Linked DNA regions of Homo sapiens: all the other regions are linked to region 3. Evidence: promoter capture Hi-C in 16 types of primary human blood cells and fetal thymus (Javierre and others, 2016). All regions are on one chromosome and are shown on one strand. The core of a region is centred on a gene start or on the middle of the fragment in contact, and the rest is flanking DNA. Distances in the headings are between cores, read along the strand shown.

Region 1 (4,843 bases), core at 335-2,834, 330 kb before region 3:
CCCGACACGAGAAGTGGGTCACCAAGTCCACGGCACTTTGGGAGCCGGACCGAACGAGTTGCATCCTTCGGGGCCGGCCGGGGCTCGGTGCAGACCCGGCAGGAGGGAAGCCAAGCTAGGAGACGCAGCCAGGTCGGAGGCGCAGTCCTCTGCCCACAAGTTTCACATTGATAGCCTTTCCCTCCCGTGGAGTAAGCTTATGCTTGGAACTACTTAAATTTACCAGGGAAATTTATACTAGTTGGAAGAGAATGTGTGTATGCCCAAATGGTGAGAATTTAAGAGCACTAGGGAAAGAGGCCAGATAGATGGTTCCACTGGAAAATTAATGATTATTTTAAAAATTACACGTGCATTCAGCGTCAAGATGTAAAAGGCAATGCAGGCAGGCACCTTAAAATTTTGGCTGCCACCCCAATCAATATCATTTCAGATCACTTTGGAGTTTAATGGTCCACTATACTAGTTGTATTTAAGAATAATAAAGCTTTAAGACCTAACATAAAGGCGATTGTAAGTCGTTAACATCAAGAGAAATTTAGACTTGTTTAAACTGTTCTGTAATGATTTGTTATCAATCAAATTGATGATCTCATCGAAATTAAACTTGTGCTGAAATGTTGATAGAGGAGACAACGCTTCTTGTTTTATCTTTAAGGAGGATGGAAAAGGTTTTTACTGGACCCTCAGTATAATTAAAGTCTTATACAGTATAACCTAAGCCAAAAGCTAATTATTTGTGGATATCTTTGCAAAGTCTCATTATAATGGCATTCAAAATGACATATTATGGAAGCTGTGCTCACCGGCCCTCTGCAGGTCTTGCTCAGTTTGCGCCTGAGTGGCATAACATTCAAACATTTTGCTGTGAAGCGAAGATATTTTTCATTTCCAGAGTTCTGCAGTTTAGAGAGGGCATTAACTACTAACAGTTTCCTAACCACCCACTCACTTATACTTTCAGTGCTCACTTTAAGGAAAAGCCATTGAAATAGAAGCTGCAATAATCTCTTCCTGTGATATCTTTGTAGAGGAGGCCAGAGGCATTAGCTCTGTTGAATTTAAGGTGAATTTAAACTGCTATTTGTGAATTTAAACTGCTATTCTTGAATTAAAGTAAGCAGGAAGTTACACTTGCAGAACTTTTGTGACACTTGGATATTTTCTAGCAAATAGATTACACCAAATGCAGTGTTTCTGTATAAAATAACAGGATTTAAGTCAAAGTGACAATTTTGTGTCACTAGGATAGACAGGATTCTGCTGAAGTCCATAAGGTCTGTATTCTGTACCTGCTCAAACAAAGGTTTGCGCTCTTAACGAGACCAGCAACCTGCGTTTTTGGAGTGAAATAGTTTCCATCTCTTTATACCTCTGAAGGCTGTAACATCTTATCAATGTACACATTACAAATAGCTCCCACTTCCCCCACTTTTAGAATCTGGCATCTTTGACCAAGAAGTTAAAGTGAGCTGGCAGTTTCAACAGCTGCCAATGTGGTTAACACCAGCTGGTTAACCCTCTCCCTCCCCTTATGCAACCCCCTACCCCAAGGCTGAGCCACACATAGGCCAGGACAGCAATCTCTACCCAGCCCTAGAAATTCAAGTCTATGAGGATAAGGAAAGGCACTTTCCACACTTCTGAAGTCAGCTCCCTTCAGTATGCAATGACATGATTTGAAATATTTATTCAATAAAATATTATTTCAAATCATGTCATTGAATAAGCAGTGTTTAGTGAATATGTAAATTTTGTTCTCACTCTTTGGGAGATTTAAAAGCCCATTTAAGGGCTGGGTGCAGTGGCTCACACCTGTAATCCCAGCAATTTGGGAGGCCTAGATAGAAGGATCACTTGAGGCCAGGAGTTGACCATTCTGGCCAACATAGCGACACCCCCATCGCCACAAAAAATGAAAAAATCAGCCCTGCATGGTGATGCATGCCTATAGTCTTAGCTACTAAGGAGGCTGAGATGGGAGGATTGTTTGAGCCCAGGAGTTCAAGGTTGCAGTGAGCAATGACCACACCACTGCATTCCAATGTAGGTGAGATCTTGTCTCAAAACAAAATCCCATTTAAAATAATCCTACTCTGAGGGCCTCATCCAGAATTTAGAAGATCTGCCTCTCACTTTCATATAACATAACTTTAGAACAGTTATAAGAAATTAGGCTAGTCATCCACATTTAACTACCAGGAACATATCTGTTTAGGGAGAAAAGAAACATTTCTTTTATAAGTATAGAACTGTGATGGTAAATTTTAAAAATGCTCCTGAGTTTAATTTCAGAGAAGTACTTCTCGGCATCATTTTGTAGTTCTGGGTACTAGTTTACACTTCACTGCTTCTCCTTTGAAAGTTTCTGTGCCCTCACATCTTATAGACTAGTACACTAGTGCACTAACTGAAGGCCACTTTTGGCACTTAATTAGCACACACCAAAAACACAAGGGGCAAACTGGGTATATAAACTGAGAAACAAAGACTTTACAACAGGTTTTGAACTTAATTTCATTTTTCCTTTGCTTTTATTAAATTTTTATCTTTCAGGTTCCACCTGAAATGCCAGTAATGATCATCCATCTATATACCTTGCAAATATTGGTCTTGGTTTTATGGCAAAAAAGATAAATGTTTCAGTTATTAAATGAATTGTATAGAGCCAGCTAGGCTAAATAAGCTTTTCATGGAAAATACGGAGATCCTAACTGTGGACTCATCATTCGGATAAATGAATATTGGAATAAGTCTTCAAAATAAAGTTCTGGAAGTCACATCACCTAACTGATTAGCAAGGAGTCAATAGAGGATACAATGATTTGGAAAAGTAAATACTCTCGCAAAGATGGCACAGGCAGATTCAGTCCTTTTCAGCCACTAACAATTTAAAACAATTCTATTGAAGCAGCAAGTGAACTCCTCTACTTCTGCAAACTTTTCTCCATCTCTTCTTCCACCTGCTTTTGTCATGGTTTTTTTCTGCTCCTCCCTGAAGTCACAATTCATAAAAGCAGAACTACAGCTCCAGTGAAGGCCCCTTTGCAAAGCTTTCCATGTTGTTACATTGAACTGCTTTGCAACGACTGCTTCTTACCTTCTGAGGGAGGTTTCACTTGTCTGTTAAAGATATACCTTTTTCTCTTTTAAAAATCTGACAATATGTAAATCTAAACCTGAAACACAATCTTCATGGCAATATTTAAAGAAAATGCTTTTAAAACCATTTCCTTTTTTTCTAGCACTTGGGGTCAGTCCCTTCGAACTATTACTGGAGAAGATGGCTTCTGTTAGGCATCAGCTTCCTTCCTATTCCATTTTCCACTGAATCTTCAAAAGCCTTGTGCAGTCTATCAAAATGCAAAGAACCTTCTTGGTGACTCTGACAACTCCAGGGTTCCCTCCTGTAGGGACACTACTCCACTAAGACTGGTGGTCACTTCTCAGAAACATCTCCCATCCCCAGCTCCCTACACAACACACATTGCCTCTACGCATCGACTATGTATTTATTCCTGTCTATAAGCCATCCATCATTCTTGAGAAGTTCCCACTCTTCTCAAGGCACTGAGCACACTTCTAGCTTCCACAGAAAATTTCAATGAATGTTAGAAATTGCACAGACCTTTCTTGCCCCCAGGAACCAGCCTGGTGACAGGAAAAGTCCTGGACTAGGAGTTTGAAGATCTTGTACACATTAATTACTTAACCATGATAAATCTATGACTTTTTAGTTTCTTAATTGACTGGTCACGGATTTAGGATCAGCACCAGTTCTCGTCAAAAGAGCACAGGGTTGTTGAGTTAGGTGATTTCAGGGCTAGCTCGTCAGCCACAGCGAGCAGGGAGGCCGAATCAGACCCTCTGCACTGGGCCTGCTTCGACACCTGGCAAAAAAAGGAACTTGGACTCAAAGATTTCAAGAGCCCCTCCCTAGAGCTAAGAGTCTATGAAACAGTGATTACACTGTCAATATCCTCATGGAGGAGTTTTAGGGCTAAAATGAGATAAAATGCTTTGGAAGCTGCTCAGCTTGTCTGGAAGAATATAAAACCAAGTTCATGTCCACATATTTCTAAATGAAAGGACTAGAAATACAAATAATGATAATGTGCTCTCTTCAATATGTTCTTTGAATTATTTTTTTAAGTCCAGAAGATGGACTTGAGCAGTTCTATCCATATTCTTCTAGATTTGTTACCCCTTAGGGTTCAAGTCACCCAGCTGTGAGACTGGGAATACCCCTACCCCCTAAGTTTGTATAGCAGCAGGCAATTTACAAGGGGCTTTTTTTTTTTTTTTTTTTTGAGACGTAGTCTTGCTCTTTGTTGCCCAGGCTGGAGTGCAATGGCACAATCTCGACTCACTGCAACCTCCGGCATCCTGGGTTCAAGTGATTCTCCTGCCTCAGCCTCCCAAGTAGCTGGGATTACAGGCATGCACCACCACACCTGGTTAATTTTGTATTTTTAGTAGAGACGGGGTTGCTCCATGTTGGTCAGGCTGGTCTCGAACTCCCATCTTCAGGTGATCTGCCCATCTCGGCCTCCCAAAGTGCTGGGATTACAGGCGTGAGCCACCGCGCCCGGCCACAAGGTGCTTTCATATGGATCCACTTGTTTGCTCTTCATAATACCTTCCCTGTGCCATAGGCAGGGCAGGTACTACTACCCACATTTCATAGAGGACTAAACAGAGGATCTGAGAAGGACCTACCAATGGAACTCTTTATCAAGCTGACTCCAGGGTCAAAGAAAGTCTGGATCTAACATTCACTGAAGCATTCTGTGGAAGCCAGGAGTGCTGAGCGTCTTGAGAAGAGCATACACTCCTCAGAAAC
Region 2 (4,420 bases), core at 1,558-4,057, 390 kb before region 3:
GCAGAGGAAAAAATACTCAAGTCCCCACAGATTGCTAACTGTCTACCTTGAGAGTGGATTGTCTCCCATTTTACCTACAGCAAAGTCACATTAACACACTTGTCTTTTTTTCATTTGTCAGTAGGAAACCGAAAAGAGAAGAGCACCTAAGTGAAGAAGCTATCAAGGTGATCGCTGGCCTTCCTGACTTAACATTCATGCATGCCAAGGTGTTGATGTTCCCAGCCACGTTAACACCTTCCACAAGCTCTCAAGAAAAAGCAGACGGATAACTGATGTGAATTGGACAGTTTCTATTGCTTTTCCTTTTTTCCATCCCTTCCCTACCATCAAAAGCATACCTGCTCTAATTAAAAAAAAAAAAAAAAAAAATTCAAGTTCAGCTGATTTGTTGGTAAGCCGCACTAGAAAGGTATACATAGTAATGTATATTTATTTACATACTGAAGTCCTAAATTTATATTAGAAAAATGTAAATAATCGGGGGTAAACATTTTTGAAGATTTATTCTTTTTGTGTTGCTGGGGTGTATACATTTATGTCTTTGTGAAATACACTGGTGGTGTCCTTCTTACAAAACTTTTGAAATAAAAAAAAAACTCAAATCTTCACTGTCTGTGAAATCCCCTTCAGTCTTTTCAGATTGCATTGACTGTCCTCTTGATTTTTCATATTACATGTCAAATTACTTTTGCTATCATAAATAAGCTCCAAAGTCCCCCATTTAATTTTTTTTTAATTTTGTGTATGATGGGTTTCAGATCTGGCTTTTGTTAACATTTTGGGGCTTTTTTAATCTTTTCAATCTGGCGTATTGCTGTTTGACCTTTTGCAAGGTACTTAATTGCTCTTTTGTTATAGGGTATGGATCATTGTCAGAACTTGATTGGAGGGGTTTAAAGAGATTGTGTCTGTTTAAAATCAGTATGATTCAGAGAAGGACCAAATTATATGAATGTCTTACAATGGAATTTACTTGTTACTGATTTTTTTGTTCTATTGTACCACTATTTTTTGAGGATTTTGCACAGTGTAAAATGACATAATCATAGATTGCTATGGTTTAGGCTGTATATACAGTGAAAACTATGGGTTTTAAATGTTTGGGGAAATTCCTATGGAAAAAAGAGAGACATGTAGAAGAACCTCTAACAAGGTTAATGTGCATGCCCAAGGTCTTTTGAAATTTCAGTGTGTAAATTTCCTTTTAGCTTATACAAAAATAAAATAATTTAAAAGAAATTTAGCCTGGTGTCTTTGTACTTTGGTATGTGAGGAAAAATGTAATGAGTTTGAATGAGAAGTTTTGTTGAATATTAACATATTTCAATCCAGAGAAAATCTTTGGTAGGGCTTCTACTTTGTTGAAGCCAGGAAGAATTAGAATCTGGCCTATAAGAATTGGATCAGCACTTTTAGTAGCTGAGCTGTTTGTTTTTATATAGAACATGAGATCAGTAAAGAAATTCCCATGATTCATTATAATGTGTCTTCATCAGAGTATTGGCAAGGTTAAATAGGGATTTGTAGGGATTTTTTTTCTTTCCAAGAATATATAAGCGTGAAATGAAGGTAGGCAGAAAAAGTCTAAAAATTTTAGAATATTAGATATTGCTTCAGCAAAAAGTCACATGACATTGCATCAGGAACAGGCAGTCAGCTGACAGTCGGCCTCATCCACTCTGGGAATGTGCCAGTGGAACTCCTGCACCTCTGTCATTGGCAGATTCCTGTGTTGCCAGGGGATTACACTGGCCATTGGAACGCTTGCCTGAGTGTAATGTAAGTATGGCCTGGAGTGACGGAGTGACAAGATGCCTATCCAGTCCATATCCCACCATTTCCCTAACTATTAAAAAAAAAAAAAAGTTTGGTCTTTTTCAGAGAAACTTTCTTTCAAAATAATCACAAGTTTTTAGTGTCCAGCAAACCTTTTGGGTGGAAAAAGATGACTCGGAAAATTCCTTAGCAGAATTTTTCATGTTTCAGTAATTGAAACATAAAGGGCTACTTCTATAGTACATTACAACTAAATTATAATGGCAAGTTTCACCAACCTAAGTTCACAGCCCACATGTTAACTGTGTTACCAAGAGAAAATTAATCAACTTCTCTGAGCCTGAATTATCCATAAAAATGGGAGTGATCCTACCTCATGAGGTTGATGTATTAAATAATGGATGTATTTAATAAGACATTTGTCACATGAGTAAACAGTCAGTGAGCGGTAGCCAGAGCATAGCATCAGGGAACTCCGTGAAAGCTCCTGGAGTCCCAGTAGGTTCAAGAAGCAGACACAGGAGAAAGGGTCACTAAATAATAATAGAGTCACTTGGCATTTTAAAATTAAGTGGGCCTTCGTTATGAAAGTGGCTTATTTTAATGACTCAGATATTTCATCTTATAACCACTTTTAGATAAGCCAGACTTTCCTTTTGTTGTTGTATTGGTCTTTGATGATTTCATAACAGGTACATTAATATTGGATCATCATAACTTAAAGTTAATGCTTCAGTACTGAAGACCAAAAGATGGTCAGCTTTGTGCCAGACCAGATTTAAACTATACAATAGCAGTGGCTGGCAGGAAGAGCTTTGAGCACCTTCTTGGGATCTCAGCTAAGGGGCAGCCTGTCGCTTACAAGCTTGTCTTGGTCATCAGCAGCTGCACATCTGTCTTAAAGTCAACCAGGAAGTTCCTGCAGAGTTAAGAGGGGAAGAAACTAAGTAGTAGGAGCCGCAAAAGGCCAAAGCCTACACTGGGGTTCAGCAAACAGCTTTGGGTCCTCTATGTCTTAAAACCAGCTCATTCATCCCGCAGCTTCATCCCACTGGATGCCCAAGTCCCGAGAGCCAGACATAATTCCCCAGGTTAATCCAAGCCAGACTGGGAAGCATGGGAGAAAACTTTCCTAAGTTGAGTCACATCAGTACTATTTTTATGAGTCGTCTTTTTTTTTTTTTTTAATAGAGAAGCTTGTTCTTCCCTCTTCATGATTGTGTTCTTTATGTAGAATTTGTCATCTTTTCATTCCTTCATGTTTATTGAATCAGTTAGGATTAGGCTTGGCTGTGAGTAACAAAAACCCAAAATACTGCATTTCATGTAGTAAGACTCATCCTTTTGTCACATTTTAACTTCTCTGAAATTGGAATGTGTCATACAATTGGATGGGTTGTCTTTAGTTGGCAGCAGTTTCTTTTTCTTAGCGACGTACTAAGTAATGCTACCTTACAACCAATGACAGAGTAGATGAAAATGGTAATGGTGGCTTAAACAGTGGAATTTTATTTCCCTCCTGTAAAATGCTGGAAGAAAACAGTCTGGGGCTGGTAAGGGGCTTCATATGATCACCTTCTGAAGTCCTTACTAGCTTGTTCCATCATTCTCAACACATGGTTTCTACCCTCTGGTCCAAGGTGGCCGTTAAGGTTATGGCCTTCCATGCCTATATTCCAGCCATCAGGGTAGAAAGAGTGAAGAAGGGATTCTCCTTCCCATTAAGGATACTTTCATTAGGGCATACACAGTATTTCCAGTTATAATCTATTGGCCAGAACTTCATTGCAGGTTCCTATCTAGCAGCAACAGAGGCTGGGAAATACCTCTATTCTGGGTGGCCATCTAAAAGATGGGGAACCTAGTTGTAAGGAAGAAGAGATCATATAGGGCAACCAGTAGTCTGAGCCACACCTATTTTTTATTTCTCAGCTCATAAACATACTTCCTTGAGATAAACTAATGCATAGAGAAATGAATTCCAAGATCATTTTCTCAGGCTGCAATGCCTCAGGCTAGATTTATTGCCTTCTTGATGCTTTTCCAAAAGGGAAAGGATCTATAGAGGGCAGTACAGGATTTCCTGGGACCATGGAGGAACAAGTGCTAAGACAAGTCCCGGGTGGAAGTAGGGGCAGCCTGATGAGATGAACACTGAATTGGAGTGGGAGTTGTGTGTTAAATACAGCCCTGTCACTAACCAGCTGTAAGATCTTCGATAAATCCCTTTTTTAAGCACCAGGTACTTCATAAAATGAGGGATTGGAGTCTATAGAATCAAAAACTAAGGTAGGAGAAAACCTTAAAGAATAGAATTTTAGGGCTGGAAGATCAGCTGGTCCAGTGCTTTCCAACTACTCCCAGGAGCCCCGCAGCAGTGCCAGGAGGCCTTGGCACCTACAGTCAGGGTGTGTCCAATAATAACACACTGGGCTTATATATTTAGGGAGGGGAAAGGTGATTGCAGAAGATTTCATGTAATAAAAACGTTCCATTGCTACCAAAAGTTGAAAACCAAAGATGACTCAATACTCATAGCTGAAGAAATGGAAGCCTAAATAAGAAAACTGACTGGCACATCATTACATATCTATAACCAGGGGCAGGACCTGAACCCAGTTTCCCTTACTCTTGGCTTTTT
Region 3 (4,490 bases), core at 1,063-3,562:
CAAGAGGAGCATTGGAGGTGGGAAGACTAATTGGGAGAACATTTCAATAGCCCAGATAAGAAGTGAGGAAATAAGAACTGAGCCAGTGTGGTAGCAGTGGGAATAGATGGGATGGGCAGATGTGATAAATATTGTGAAAGGAATCTCTGTGGGACTTGGCAATTCATTAGATGAGAGAAGGCACCACAGAGGGAAGAATCAAAGTTCGCTTTGAAGTTTCACACAGAGGTGACTGGGTCATCAATTATGTTTTAACCGAAGGGATGAGCAGGTTTGAGGAAGGCAACCATGAGTTTGGTTTTGAACATTTTAGTTGGGACGCCTGCAGGATATTCAGGTGAAGATGTAAAACAGGCAGCCGAAGACTCATTTCTGGAGCATGATTTGAGAGTCTTTTGCATAAACGTGGTAGTCAAAACAAAGGGAAGGGCTGATTGGCAAAACACAGTGTGTGTCTGTAGGAATTACTCTTTCTTCAGTGCACATAGAGAAATGAACTGCATTCTGGAAAGCCAGATATAAATATGTGCAGCTCTTCATCTGACACTACCTCCCCCGCCCACCCCCCCCCCCCCCACACACAATCCTTACAAGTTCTAGCCAATAGCTGGCTGGCTCCAAGCAATAAAATACTCACTGTCTCAAAATTTGGACAGCTCCTTAAAGTTCCTTATGAAGGCATTTTGATTTGCACAAATATGTCATGACATGTTTTAAGATGACTCCTTTATAGCAAGAAATCTATAGTAAATTGCCTTCCTCCTTAATTGAGGTTAGCCACAATTAAGTCTTCCCTTGCCTGGCACAGTGGGTGGTGCCAGCTACCAAGGAGGATCCCATAAGCCCAGGAACTGGGAGACCAGCCTGGGCAACATAGCGAGACCTTGTCCCAGAAAGAGAGGAAAGAAAGGAAAGAAAGGGAAAGAAGGAAAGAAGGAAGGAAGGGAGGGAGGGAGGGAGGGGGGGAGGAAGGAAGGAAGGAAGGAAGGAAGGAAGGAAGGAAGGAAGGAAGGAAAAAGAAAAAACAAAAGACCACCCACGGAAGTCTTTAAAGAACAATTCACAAGCAGAATAAAAAAATATAAAAATATAATAACTGTGATACAGTAAAAAGACTCAGCAGAAGTTTCCCTTGTAACTCGCGTGGCCAAAGCAGATATCAAATAAAAGATGAAATAAACAGGAAATCCATAGAACGTGAACAATAAGGAACCGTTCAGGATGGCCAAACCGCCGTCTGCGCTGTTTTCTCGCCAGGGCTCAGGCCTGGGAACGGAAGAGGTTAAAATCCAGTGGCTTGTGTTTCAGCTTTGGTTACGTGGCAGAAACCAACTGGAAGTGGTGGCGTGAGAGCTCTGTTTCTTCTAGAAGAGCTTTGCGTCTTAAACGCCCATACCGCAGACAGCTGCCTGGCGGGCGACCCAGCCCCATCCTGATGGCCCCAGGACACAAGCCCAGGAGCGCCCCGGTGCGCGCGGTTCCGCGGCCCAGGGGCGCCGGGTTTGGTGGCACAGCGAGCCCCCTTTCTCTAGCGGTATGGCTGCGTTAGAGCCCTAATGAGCGCGTGCGAAGGCTCCCCTTATTCATCCATCCTCCGGTCCGTCCTTTGTCTCAAGGCCGGGGCCTTGCTGGGCACCATGGCGTGCTTTACCGCACAAGCCCCTGAGGACCCCTGGAAGAAGGGATCTTCCGCAGGAGGGGACGCGACGGCAGGACCGCCCCGGGCCCCCTCACCGCGCCCGGCCCCCTGGCGGGAGAGGCCGGCGAGCTCTGGAGAGGAGCGCGGGCCGCGCGGGGCGAAAGCGCCACCCGGGAGAGAGGGATCCTCCCCTCTCCTCCTCTCTTCTCCCCTCCCCTCCCTCCCCTCCCACAGTCCTCAGGAGGAGGAACGCCGCTGCGTTCTAAGTTCTCCCGGGCCCTCTGGCCCCGAGGACTCAGATCCCGGCCGCGGGAGAGGGCCCGGCAGGTGCCAAGGAGCCCGGGCGGTCCTTCAGCCCGCACTTCCCCGCGGTCGCCCGGAGCCGGCCTCCGTTAGCCGGGCGGGTAGGCGGCTATTGGCGCCAGGATTGGCCGGCGCCGCCCGCGCCCCCGCGGCCTCGGGTGGAGCCTCCCGCCCGGCCGCCCCCTGCGGCACCCGCGACACGGGTGGGGACCAGAGGCTCCCGGCGGCGGCTCCCGGCGGCGGCTCCCGGGCTGTGATTGGCCAGCGCCACAGGGGGCGGGACGGCGGGCGTGAAGTGAGCGGGCTGGGGCCGCTGGCGCGCCCTCCTACTTCCCCGTCTGCGTCCGCGTTCGCGGCTCCCGTTTGCATCATCTCCAGCCGGCGGCTGCTCCAGGGAGGCTGGGCGCGATCCTCTCCGCCCGCGGCTCCAACCCGCACTCTGCGCCTCTCCTCGCCTTTCTCGCACCTGCTCCTGCGCCAGGCCCGGAGACCCCCGGGGCGGCTTCCCAGAACCTGCGGAGCACAACTGGCCGACCGACCCATTCATTGGGAACCCCGTCTTTTGCCAGAGCCCACGTCCCCTGCCACCTCTAGCTCGGAGCGGCGTGTAGCGCCATGGAGAAGAGCAACGAGACCAACGGCTACCTTGACAGCGCTCAGGCGGGGCCTGCGGCCGGGCCCGGAGCTCCGGGGACCGCGGCGGGACGCGCACGGCGTTGCGCGGGCTTCCTGCGGCGCCAAGCGCTGGTGCTGCTCACCGTGTCCGGGGTGCTGGCGGGCGCGGGCCTGGGCGCGGCGTTGCGCGGGCTCAGCCTGAGCCGCACGCAGGTCACCTACCTGGCCTTCCCCGGCGAGATGCTGCTCCGCATGCTGCGCATGATCATCCTGCCGCTGGTGGTCTGCAGCCTGGTGTCGGGCGCCGCCTCGCTCGATGCCAGCTGCCTCGGGCGTCTGGGCGGCATCGCTGTCGCCTACTTTGGCCTCACCACACTGAGTGCCTCGGCGCTCGCCGTGGCCTTGGCGTTCATCATCAAGCCAGGATCCGGTGCGCAGACCCTTCAGTCCAGCGACCTGGGGCTGGAGGACTCGGGGCCTCCTCCTGTCCCCAAAGAGACGGTGGACTCTTTCCTCGACCTGGCCAGGTAACACTCTCCACCTCTCCCAGGGCCCAGTGGGAGACGCCAGTTCTCGGATGCCCTCCAGTTCATACACCCATATGCTTATACACTCCTAAGAGTTAATTCTTAGCTGGCTGCTGGTGGCGTTTAACGTTTTAAAAATATCAAAATGACGTCTGGAGTTTTTGCGTGCTGACCACACCTTTGCAAACAGCTGGGGCGCACCGCACAATCGAAAGAGCAGGGCCGCATCTTTGAGCAAGAACCAGTCCCCACCGTTAGGTGGGCGTTTGTTAGGGAAGAGCCAGCCGCCCCGCCTGTTCTTTACTCCTTATACTCTCGCGCTGCTCTCCCCGGTAAAAATGTTCCGACCACGCCCCAGTGGCTTCGCCTCATTTTCTCCCACATGGTGCCTAAAAGCTTCTGGGAGCATTGGTTAAGTTTTGCCTCTTGGGTCATCCGGCTTGCAATCTATGGCCTTCTCTGTTACAGTCCTTGGCTGCGAAGGAAGCTGGCAATTTTCTGCAGTTATCAGTGGACCCACGGATAATAGGGCTGGGGTTAGTTGAGTGAGACATATTGCCCAGAAATATGCCTCTCCTGAGGGCTTGGGGCTTGGGACAGGTTGCTGTCCACCCCAGTAAAGACCACGGCAGAGTGCTGTGTTTCAAAGGCCTTTCTTTGTGCGAAAGTGTGAGTTCTAGAGGGGAGGGAGAGAAGCATCTTCACTTAGTTTTGCCTGCTTTTTGCAATTCTTAGAAGTTGCATTTCATCCTTTGAGATGATGTAGTATCCTTTCTGTGACTTATCCAAAACCTTGGTCTCTCCTGGTTTCTCCATTAGCCCAAAGTTCACAAATGGGGAAACTGCAGCCCGGAGGCATTTACTGATCTAACCAGGTTCAGTTGAGTGAGGAGTCCAGCTGGCTCCTTCTCCAGATTTCTGATGATTTTGGATTCTGAGCCTTGGAGTTATTAATATATTTTGTCTTGAGTTATTGAGGCAAAGCTCCTCATTGCTGAGGTTGTGAAAAACAGCAAACCCTGGGCAAAGTGACTTGCCTTTCCAACTGTTTCCATTTCTCCTTCTGGAAAATGTGATGGCTGTCTGCACTTAAGAGAGAGATTGTTCACTTAAAACAACAAAAATCTAGGACATCCGTATTTAAAAACAAACAAACAACAACAAAAAAAAACCACTCATGAGGGAGACCAAAAGTTCTTGCCAAAAGGGCAGATAGTGGTGGCCTATTAGGACTTTTAAGGGGATCACAGCTTTTTTTTTTTTTTTTTTTTTTTAAAGTCTGGGTCTTGCTCTTTTGCCCAGACTGGAGTGCAGTGTTGGGATCCTAGCTCACTGCATCCCCGAACTCCTAGGCTTCAGCGATCCTCCTGCCTCAGTCTCCAGAGTAGCTGAGATTACAGGTGCAC

What was found. The method cuts DNA at HindIII sites, captures the fragments that hold promoters and counts their contacts. A CHiCAGO score of 5 or more calls a contact.
Region 1: a fragment that was not itself captured here is called in contact with the fragment with the promoter of SLC1A4 in region 3 in 1 of 17 cell types (fetal thymus); the score reaches 5.5 in fetal thymus.
Region 2: a contact is called between a fragment that was not itself captured here and the fragment with the promoter of SLC1A4 in region 3, in 1 of 17 cell types (total B cells). The highest score is 6.2, in total B cells.

Annotation. Positions count from the first base shown.
Region 1 is chr2:64,654,593-64,659,435 of GRCh38, forward strand. LOC124907776 reads left to right here. Exons shown (of 1, transcript XM_047446580.1): 1 at 1-631. The coding sequence ends at 119. Among named protein-coding and RNA genes, the nearest start is that of SERTAD2, 3.1 kb to the left of the region's middle. RefSeq lists an enhancer at 736-895. The HindIII fragment of the contact is 2,199 bases long and covers 486-2,684 here.
Region 2 is chr2:64,591,764-64,596,183 of GRCh38, forward strand. All of the region lies in intron 3 of LOC105374773 (a long non-coding RNA gene), which reads right to left. It overlaps AFTPH (aftiphilin), which reads left to right. Exons shown (of 10, transcript NM_203437.4): 10 at 125-1,242. The coding sequence ends at 272. Among named protein-coding and RNA genes, the nearest start is that of LINC02579, 13 kb to the right of the region's middle. The HindIII fragment of the contact is 331 bases long and covers 2,643-2,973 here.
Region 3 is chr2:64,987,087-64,991,576 of GRCh38, forward strand. SLC1A4 (solute carrier family 1 member 4) reads left to right here and starts at 2,313. Exons shown (of 8, transcript NM_003038.5): 1 at 2,313-3,084. The coding sequence starts at 2,558. RefSeq lists silencers at 1,623-2,322, 2,533-2,712 and an enhancer at 2,315-2,899. The HindIII fragment of the contact is 3,825 bases long and covers 1-3,478 here.